Regions from separate parts of the Homo sapiens genome. Here regions 1 and 3 are each linked to region 2. The links are contacts of gene promoters, found by promoter capture Hi-C in blood cells and fetal thymus (Javierre and others, 2016). All regions are on one chromosome and are shown on one strand. Each heading gives the region's core, a stretch centred on a gene start or on the middle of the fragment in contact. The rest is flanking DNA. Distances are from core to core; before and after follow the strand shown. Region 1 overlaps LOC105373883 (a long non-coding RNA gene). Region 2 holds the start of CFAP65-AS1 (CFAP65 antisense RNA 1). Region 3 overlaps STK36 (serine/threonine kinase 36).

Evidence for each region. Contacts are between HindIII fragments. The CHiCAGO score rates a contact against its expected background, and 5 or more counts as called.
Region 1: a fragment that was not itself captured here is called in contact with the fragment with the promoter of CFAP65-AS1 in region 2 in 1 of 17 cell types (M2 macrophages); the score reaches 5.6 in M2 macrophages.
Region 3: a contact is called between a fragment that was not itself captured here and the fragment with the promoter of CFAP65-AS1 in region 2, in 2 of 17 cell types (M2 macrophages and M1 macrophages). The highest score is 7.4, in M2 macrophages.

The regions. Positions count from the first base shown.
Region 1 is chr2:219,364,454-219,367,153 of GRCh38, forward strand. All of the region lies in intron 1 of LOC105373883 (a long non-coding RNA gene), which reads right to left. Among named protein-coding and RNA genes, the nearest start is that of DNPEP, 22 kb to the right of the region's middle. The HindIII fragment of the contact is 3,139 bases long and covers 1-2,700 here.
Region 2 is chr2:219,000,774-219,003,473 of GRCh38, forward strand. It overlaps CFAP65-AS1 (CFAP65 antisense RNA 1), which reads left to right and starts at 1,442. Exons shown (of 3, transcript NR_046086.1): 1 at 1,442-1,527. It overlaps CFAP65 (cilia and flagella associated protein 65), which reads right to left. Exons shown (of 35, transcript NM_194302.4): 34 at 2,362-2,499; 35 at 2,073-2,248. The coding sequence ends at 2,164. It overlaps MIR375 (microRNA 375), which reads right to left and starts at 935; the gene lies at 872-935. RefSeq lists an enhancer at 1,214-1,508. The HindIII fragment of the contact is 13,795 bases long and covers 1-2,700 here.
Region 3 is chr2:218,701,255-218,703,954 of GRCh38, forward strand. It overlaps STK36 (serine/threonine kinase 36), which reads left to right. Exons shown (of 27, transcript NM_015690.5): 27 at 612-1,461. The coding sequence ends at 755. Among named protein-coding and RNA genes, the nearest start is that of TTLL4, 8.2 kb to the right of the region's middle. The HindIII fragment of the contact is 889 bases long and covers 912-1,800 here.

The DNA.
Region 1 (2,700 bases), core at 42-2,541, 360 kb after region 2:
TCCTTTCCCCATGTGAAAGGTGTCCTTCCTCCAAAGATGGGGACACAGACAGGAATCTGAACACATGGGCCTTGTTAAGTCTTTTGGGTAAATAAAATTAGTTTTAAGATTGTTGGCAGGCTGGGCGCAGTGGCTCACACCCCTAATCCCAGTGCTTTGGGAGGCTGAGACAGGAGCATTACTTGCGCCCAGGAGTTTGAAACCAGCTTGGACAACATACTGAGACTTGGTCTTTACAAAAAGTTTAAAAAGTAGGCCGGGCTTAGGGGCTCACGCCTGTAATCCCCGCACTTTGGGAGGCCGAGGTGGGTGGATCACTTGAGGTCAGGAGTTCAAGATAAGCCTGGCCAACATGGTGAAACCCCGCCTCTACTAAAAATACAAAAAATTAGACTGGCGTGGTGGCAGGCGCCTGTAATCCCAGCTAGTTGGGAGGCTGAGGCAGGTGAATCCCTTGAGCTTAGAAGTTCAAGGCTGCAGTGAGCTGTGTTCACACCACTGCAATCCAGTCTGGGCAGCAGAGTGAGACCTTGTTTATATAGATTAAAAAAAAAAAAAGCCAGGTACAGTGGCTCACGCCTGTAATCCTAGCACTTTGGGAGGCCGAGGCAGGTTGATCACAAGGTCAGGAGTTCAAGACCAGCCTGACCAACATGGTGAAACTCCGCCTCTACTAAAAATACAAAAATTAGCTGGGCGTGGTGGTACACACCTGTAATCCCAGCTACTCAGGAGGCTGAGGCAGGAGAATCACTTGAACTCAGGAGGCGGAGGTTGCAGTAAGCCAAGATGGCTCCATTCCATTGCACTCCAGCCTGGGTGACAGAGCCAGGCTCTGTAAAAAAAAAAAAAAAAAAAAAAAAAAAAAAAAAAAAAAATTGTTGATAAAATAAAAGCAGAAATGTCTTTGGAGTTGTCAGCATTAAATAGAATGCAGAACTACAATTTTATTTTACCTGGGTTTACTGGTCAAACAATGTTATATCAACTAGATGTTTAAGGTTATAAAACTATAAATCTAAACTAAGAATAAAATATACAATAAAAATAAATTGCTTGATGCATATCAAGCATAGCAGTTTTTAAAAAAAGACAGAGAAGAACCATATATTTAAATTTTTAGGTTTTTTGCTTCTGTTATTTTTTTTTAAACAGGGTTTAGCTTTGTTGCCCAGGCTGGAGTACAATGGCATGATTATGGCTCATTGCAGCCTCAACCTCCCAGGCTCGAGCAATTCTTACCACCTCAGCCTCCCAAGTAGCTAAAACTTCAGGAGAATGCCACCATGGACAGACAATTTTTGTATAGATGGGGTTTGGCCATGTTGCCTAAGCTGGTCTCGAACTCCTGGGCTCAAGGGATCTGTCCACTTCGGCATGCCAAAGTGCTGGGATTATAGGCGTAAGCCACCATGCCTGGCCATTTTTTACACTTACCTGATTTGTCAACAAGAAAAATAACTTGAGATGATGGCTAGCTTTGTTTGATGTTACAGTATGTCTGCCTGAATCAGTTTCCAAATCTTATTTGGTAACTTGCAAACTTAAAGTTAGGTTAAATTAAGCAGTAGATATTCATTAAATGTCTGAACCATTTGTAAGTAAGATAAACTACTGAAACATTAACTACTAAGCATAAATTTAAGCGTATATACTTCTGGCATCTTATTTTTATATGATATAGAGAAGCTAAATATATTTGGGTCTACTAATAAGCATGTTCTTTGCCACACTGAAAGACTGTACTATATTAGGAAGCATATGTTCCTGAAATTATAAAATAGTATATTCATAAATTTACTAATCTACTACAAGATGCCGATATATGACAGGCAGTTCACAATTGCCTGCTTCCTAGTTTTCACAGCAAATTAGGGTCACTAAGGGTTAAAACTTATAATAAGTATACATAAATAAAACAATTAGACATCATAGGATGGAGGGAAACAACTTTGTATGCAAAGTATGCAAGGTATGAAGAAATTATTATTATTATTATTATTTGAGACCGAGTCTTGCTCTGTCACCCAAGCTGGAGTGCAGTGGCGCGATATCGGCCCACTGCAAACTCCACCTTCCGGGTTCAAGCGATTCTCCTGCCTCAGCCTCCCTAGTAGCTGGAATTACAGGCACATGCCACCATACCCAGCTAATTTTTGTATTTTTAGTAGAGATGGGGTTTCGCCATGTTGGCCAGTCTGGTCTCCAATTCCTGACCTCAGGTGATCCGCCCGCCTCGGCCTCCCAAAGTGCTGGGATTACAGGCGGGAGCCACTGTGCCTAGCCAGCCGTGGGTTTTTCATAGATGCCTTTATCAGGTTGAGCAAGCTCTTTTCTATTTCTGAATGTTGAATATTTTTATTATGAAAGGGTTTGGGATTGTACCAAATGCTTTTTCTGCATCAATTGAGATCATGTGGGTTTTGCTCTTTATTCTATAATATAATGTATTACATTAATTAATTTTAATATGTTGAAGTAAACCTGCATTCTTGGGATGTCCACTTTATTATAGTACATTACCAGCCTGGCCAACATGGCGAAACCCCATCTCTACTAAAAATACAAAAATTAGCTGGGCGTGGTGGTAGGTGCCTGTAATCACTGCTACTCAGGAGGCTGAGGCAGGAGAATTGCTTGAACCTAGGAGGCAGAGGTTGCTGTGAGCCAAGATTGCGCCACTGCACTCCAGCCTGGGCA
Region 2 (2,700 bases), core at 192-2,691:
GTGACATAGGGGCACTAGAGCGGGTGGTGGTGGAGGGGACAATCCAGCACCTCTAGGAACATGCAGTTTGGAGGGACTTCTGACCCTGGTTCCCATCTCCCGGGGCTGCCTCTGCCTGAGCTGAGGGCCACCTACCTACCCCACCCCAGCTGATGGAAGCGAGGATGTGGGATTCTGAGGTTTGAGGAAGGTGGTGAACCGCTGTGCCTGGGGGCTTGTCCTTTTCAGTCAGTCTGACTGTCTCAGACGTTTTTAGACTGAAAGAGGGACCAAGGGAGTGTCAGGGAGTGACATCTCAGGATGTCAGCAGCACCACAGAGATCCGAGGAGTGGATTTGAGGCTCCATGGTGGCCCTCAGCTTCCCCCGCCCAGATTTTCCACACCTCAGCCTTGGCTCCAACTCCGTGAGGGCCTGCATCTTCCCCAGCATGACCAGGAGCCCAGGAACCGGGACAGGAGGCTGGGGAGGGCCTAGCCCCTGCGGGAGGCCAGACCAACCGTTCACTGAGCAAATGGGAAAACCAAGAGGCCGGGAAATGACTTGCCCAAGGCCATAGAAGTCGCGGGGACAGAGGCGGACTAGAATCCGGGTTTCCACCTCCAGAAGGGTTTCTGTTCTGGGCCACGGCCCCCTTCGCCACCCGCTGGAGCCGGCTCAGCCCGTATTACGACGCAGAATGGAGCCTGGCAGCCCAGAAGCTGCGGGCAGGGCAAGGCAGGGCGGGTGGGGCCGGATGGGAGCCGGATCTCCCCTGGAGCGGCGCACAGCCTCTCCCACCCGTACGGTTGAGATGGCGGTGGCGGTGGCGGCGGCAGGTGCCTGCGTGGCGATCAGGCCGGCCCCCGGGCTGGTGCTGAGAGGCCGCCCCTGCCTCACGCGAGCCGAACGAACAAAACGCTCAGGTCCGGTTTGTGCGAGGGGCTCGTCGCGGGGCGGGAGCGGAGGGCCCGGGGCCTGGCGGTCGCCCTCGGTGATCTCCTGGTCCTGGTCTTCCGCGAGCTCAGTGCTGCACAGCGCCCCGCTAGCCTCCGCCCTCACCTGAACGCATCTGCGGCTGACACGTCGGCGGCCGCGGCGGCCACCGCAGGTGCGCACCTGGCCCGCCCCTCCTTTCCCAGCCACCCTCCGCCCGGCTTTCCTGGCCCCTCCGCCCGGCCCAGCCTAGCTTGGCTTCGTCCCCAGCCCACGCCTTGGAGCTTGTCCCGGAGCCCGGGCTCCGTGTGCTCTTATACTGCCTGTTCAGTCCCCGCCCCCAGACACACACACTCACACCTGTCCAGGCGCCCGTTTGCTCGGGGCAAATATTGACTCATGGAGGCGGAGCGCTCCCCCCTCCCCCGCCCGGGCTCTGAGACCGGAGCTTCTCCGAGGCCTTGGTGGCGGGGGCGGAGGGGAGGGTGCTGGGGACCCTGGGCGCCTCTGGAACAACACCAGATGTCACTTTTCCACCCACCTGCCTCTGGGAGGGAGGAGCCGAGAAGCAGAGGACAGAAGCTCCCGGGCGGGGGTTAGGAGGAACCGAGAGGTGGGTATCCATCCTCGTCTGAGGACTGATTCACAGTGGGAGTCGCTTAGCAGGGTCTGTGGCCCGAAATCCAGTGGTGACCTCGACCCGCCCCAGCCTAGTTCCTGGCCCTCCGCGGCGTGCCTCAGTTCTTCCTCCCCAGCCTCTTGGGCACTCGGAGCTCGGCAAATGCTAAGGGGCTGGCCCTGGGGGTGCTAAGCCTCCGAGCAGGCGCGGCGCGGAAAGGTGAGGGGTGGCCGCCCTGCCCAGTGGACACCTGCTTCGCTGGCCAGGCCTGGCACTCAGTTACTGTGCACCAAGGTGCGCTGGGGCAAAGGCCAGCCAGGCCCCGTCCGGAGCGCCCTCCACTGGCCAGACCCGGTCCAGCGGCCGGCAGCTAGCGGCCAGGTCTCAGTCCAGCTGCAGTGTGGGCGGAGAGGTGCATCCTCCCGGGCCCTAAGTTCCCGCCGCGCCTCTGCAGTCCGCCCGGGCTGCTCCCTGCCATCCTTCCCTCTCAGAGCTCGCGCGCGCGTTCCCCCTCGTCGGGGAAATAAAGTCAAGGTAGATACAGAAAAAAGACTAGATGCTTTTACTGGCGGTGGAGAGGGGGCCAGGCGTGACCCCTAGCGGCATGTCGGAGAGGCTGGGCGCGGGCATTTACGGAAGGTCGGTAGGAAGTGGCACCACCGGGTGGAGTACCTCTGCTTGCTGCGTCGGCAGCAGCGTGTCCGGGGTCAGACTCCTGGAAGACAAAAAGTCCCAGGTAGGCGTGGGGGCGAGGCTTCGGGCAGAGCCTGGCTGCCCCCGTGGCCCCTCTCGCGCGGTCTGCGCGGCCGCTGGTCCCGGCGCCCTTACCTGGGCACGCAGAACGGCGGCAGGGCGATGACGCGTGGCCGCGAGGTGAGTACCACCTCCCCGCGGCTCGCCTCCACCAGGATGTTCTGGATCATGTTCTCCAGCAGCGCCTCCTGCAGGTTGGCGAAGGCCGGGAGCCTGCGAGGGGGCGGGGGCTAGCATGAGGGCGGCCGCAGTGCCCGCGCGCCTCCTCGCTCGCCTGTCCGTGCGGTACATTGTGCCGCGAGCTCTACGGAGATTCCCATTCGACTCCCCTCATCCACTACACTATGGGGCATTCTTGTTTCAATGTTACGGACGTTCCAAGTGTGGCTAAAAGATTCCAAGTTGCCAAATATG
Region 3 (2,700 bases), core at 106-2,605, 300 kb before region 2:
CCGAGTAGCTGGGACTACAGGCACCTGCCGCCACACCCAGCTAATTTTTTGTATTTTTTTTTTTTTTAGTAGAGACGGGGTTTCACCGTGATAGCCAGGATGGTCTCGATGTCCTGACCTCGTGACCCGCCCGCCTTGGCCTCCCAAAGTACGGGATTACAGGCATGAGCCACCTTGCCTGGCCGATGGTGAAGATCCTATAGGAATCTTGTGCAATCCATGGGGAAAATAATTAATGGGATTCTTGGTGGTAATGAGGTTAGAACTCACTGGTCTGCATTGAAGGCTAGGAATTAGACCTTTTGGCTTACTGTGAGTTACTGCTGCATTCATCAAGTCTTCCTGGGGACAAGTATATGTGTCCCTTAGTGCCTTGGTTTCATGGTCTATAACCAAAGAGAATGGAAGTAGACTTCTGGTCCTGATGATTCCTATCTCCAAGGTTTCTCTTCTGCCATTCAGTCTATTCCAAGTCCCCAAGAGCCCATTTCCTTTTTCTTCCTCTTCTCGAGTGGGAATTCCTGGGTAAATGAGAGTCCTCCGCACCTGCCCCAGACACCACCATTTCTGAGCCTCATGTTCTGTTCTATCATCTGTTCTCTATCCTACAGGTACTGGTGTCCCTGGGTGCCAGTGAGAAACTATCCTTGCTCTCTCTGGGGAATCAGTCACTGCCACACAGCAGTCCTAGGCCTGCCTCTGCCAAACACTGCAGGAAACTCATTCACCTCCTGAGGCCAGCCCATAGCATGTGATTCCAGATTCCTGCGGTCCAGCCTCCAACTTTGGTTGCCAGCTCTTTCTTATTCTACTACACAAGCCGCCAACTCAACTGAGAGCTAAAGAGACTAGAAAAGAGATAAGCTGCCAACTCAACTGAGAACAAGAAACTAGAAGAGATTTATATATAAAGCTTCTTCCTTCTCCCAGATGCAGGATGTTTTCAACCAGTAAATTTTATTGCTGTTGGTGCCAGAGAAGAGTCCTTTCTTCTCTACATCCAGGGGCCTTTTCTCCAATAATGTGCCTTTAACTCTAGGGACCTGCCTCACGGACCTTAGGGAAAAACCTCAACCTGAAAGATCTCTTCCTTTCTGGAGCTCCTTTAATCTTCCCAGCAGGTTTTTGCCTTAGACGTGCTGGCCCCAGGACAGTGATGAAGACAGAGCCTGTCTCAGCTCTAGGCTGTGGGGATCAATGCCATCAGTCCCTGTTATTGAGGGATTATCCCTTAGCCAACATTCCTATCTGTGGGTGGGCGTGGAGAGTGTATCTTTTTTTGGGGTGTGTGTGTATATGTGTGTGTGTATGTGTGTGTGTGTTTAATAGTTCTGTTTGTAAACTCTTTTAATAAAAGTTGTGCCTCACCATACTTGAAGCTCCCAGGACAAGGGTTGAGAGGCTCAACCCCTCTTTCAGCTTCTATGTGGTGTTGGAGGTGCTGGTATCGTGTTCACACAAGATCCTGGTCTGGCAGCTTATTTATATCATTTCTTGCCTTTACCAATTTCCCCCTTCCTAGATGAACTATATTTGGTTACCTACTTTCAAGTCAAGGCCGGTGGAGCTGAAATAGGAAAGGGTAAGATTCAACAGAGCGGTCAATTAGGTTGCTCAGACTTAGTGACTAATTTTAATATTTAGTGGAGTTCTAATGTGTAGGGACTCCAAGCTGCTGTAGAAGGATAGCTATTTTAAAGATTGTACAATTTACCAGAAAGGGCTTTTAGTCAGACCTGTTAGAATTATAATCTAACTGGAAGCATTGGAAAACCTTAACTCATTGGATGGCTTAGAACAAGCTTCCAGGGCCTTGATTTCTCCATCCATAAAATGAGGAGACTCCTTTCTGTCCTTCCTTAAATTCCAGTTGTTTTAGAAATGAAAGACAAGTAAAGTGCCCTTATTTTTATAAGAAATTTTGTTTAACCCTCATCTTCATTGTCCACAGTGTTTATACTTTAGCAAAAATAATATTTTTCTAGGGAGCACCATAATTTTCTTCTATCCAGATTATCTCAATTCAGTTCAATGTATATTTTTTGAGTCCTTTCTGTATGCCAGATACTATTCTAGGTACAGGAGATAAAACAGTGCCCATCATAGAGTTTCCATTCTGGTCGGGGAGATAGTGAAATTATTAAAAGAATAGTATGTAGGAAGGTGGTAAAAGCTATGGAGAAAAAGAAACCAGGGAAAGGAGATGAGGAGTGCTGAGTCGGATGGTCAGGGTAGGCCTCACTAGAAGGTGACACTTGAGAAAAGACTCGAAGGAGGCGAGGGAGTGAGTTGTGCACCTATTTTGGGGAAAAGCCAAGGCCCTGAGATGAAAGCATGCCTGGCATGCTTGAGGAGCTATGAGGAACCAGTATGGATTAAGTGAGTAAAGAAGGTGGAGAATAGTAGGAAATGAGACAGGAAGGTAATGGTGGGGGCCAGATATTGTAGGCTTTGTAGACCTTGGTGAAGACTTGGGCTCTTACTTTGAATGAAGGAGGCATCTATTGCAGGCTTTTGAACAGAGAATTTTATGAACTACCTTGCATCCTAAACGGATCATTCTTCATTCTGGTCTTGTGAATGGCTATGGGGAGTAGGGGAGAATGCGAAGTAGGATAAGCAGTTAGGAGGCTATTGTTATAATAATCCAGGCAAGAGACAATGGTGTCCTGGATGGCGACTGGGGTGATACCTATGGAG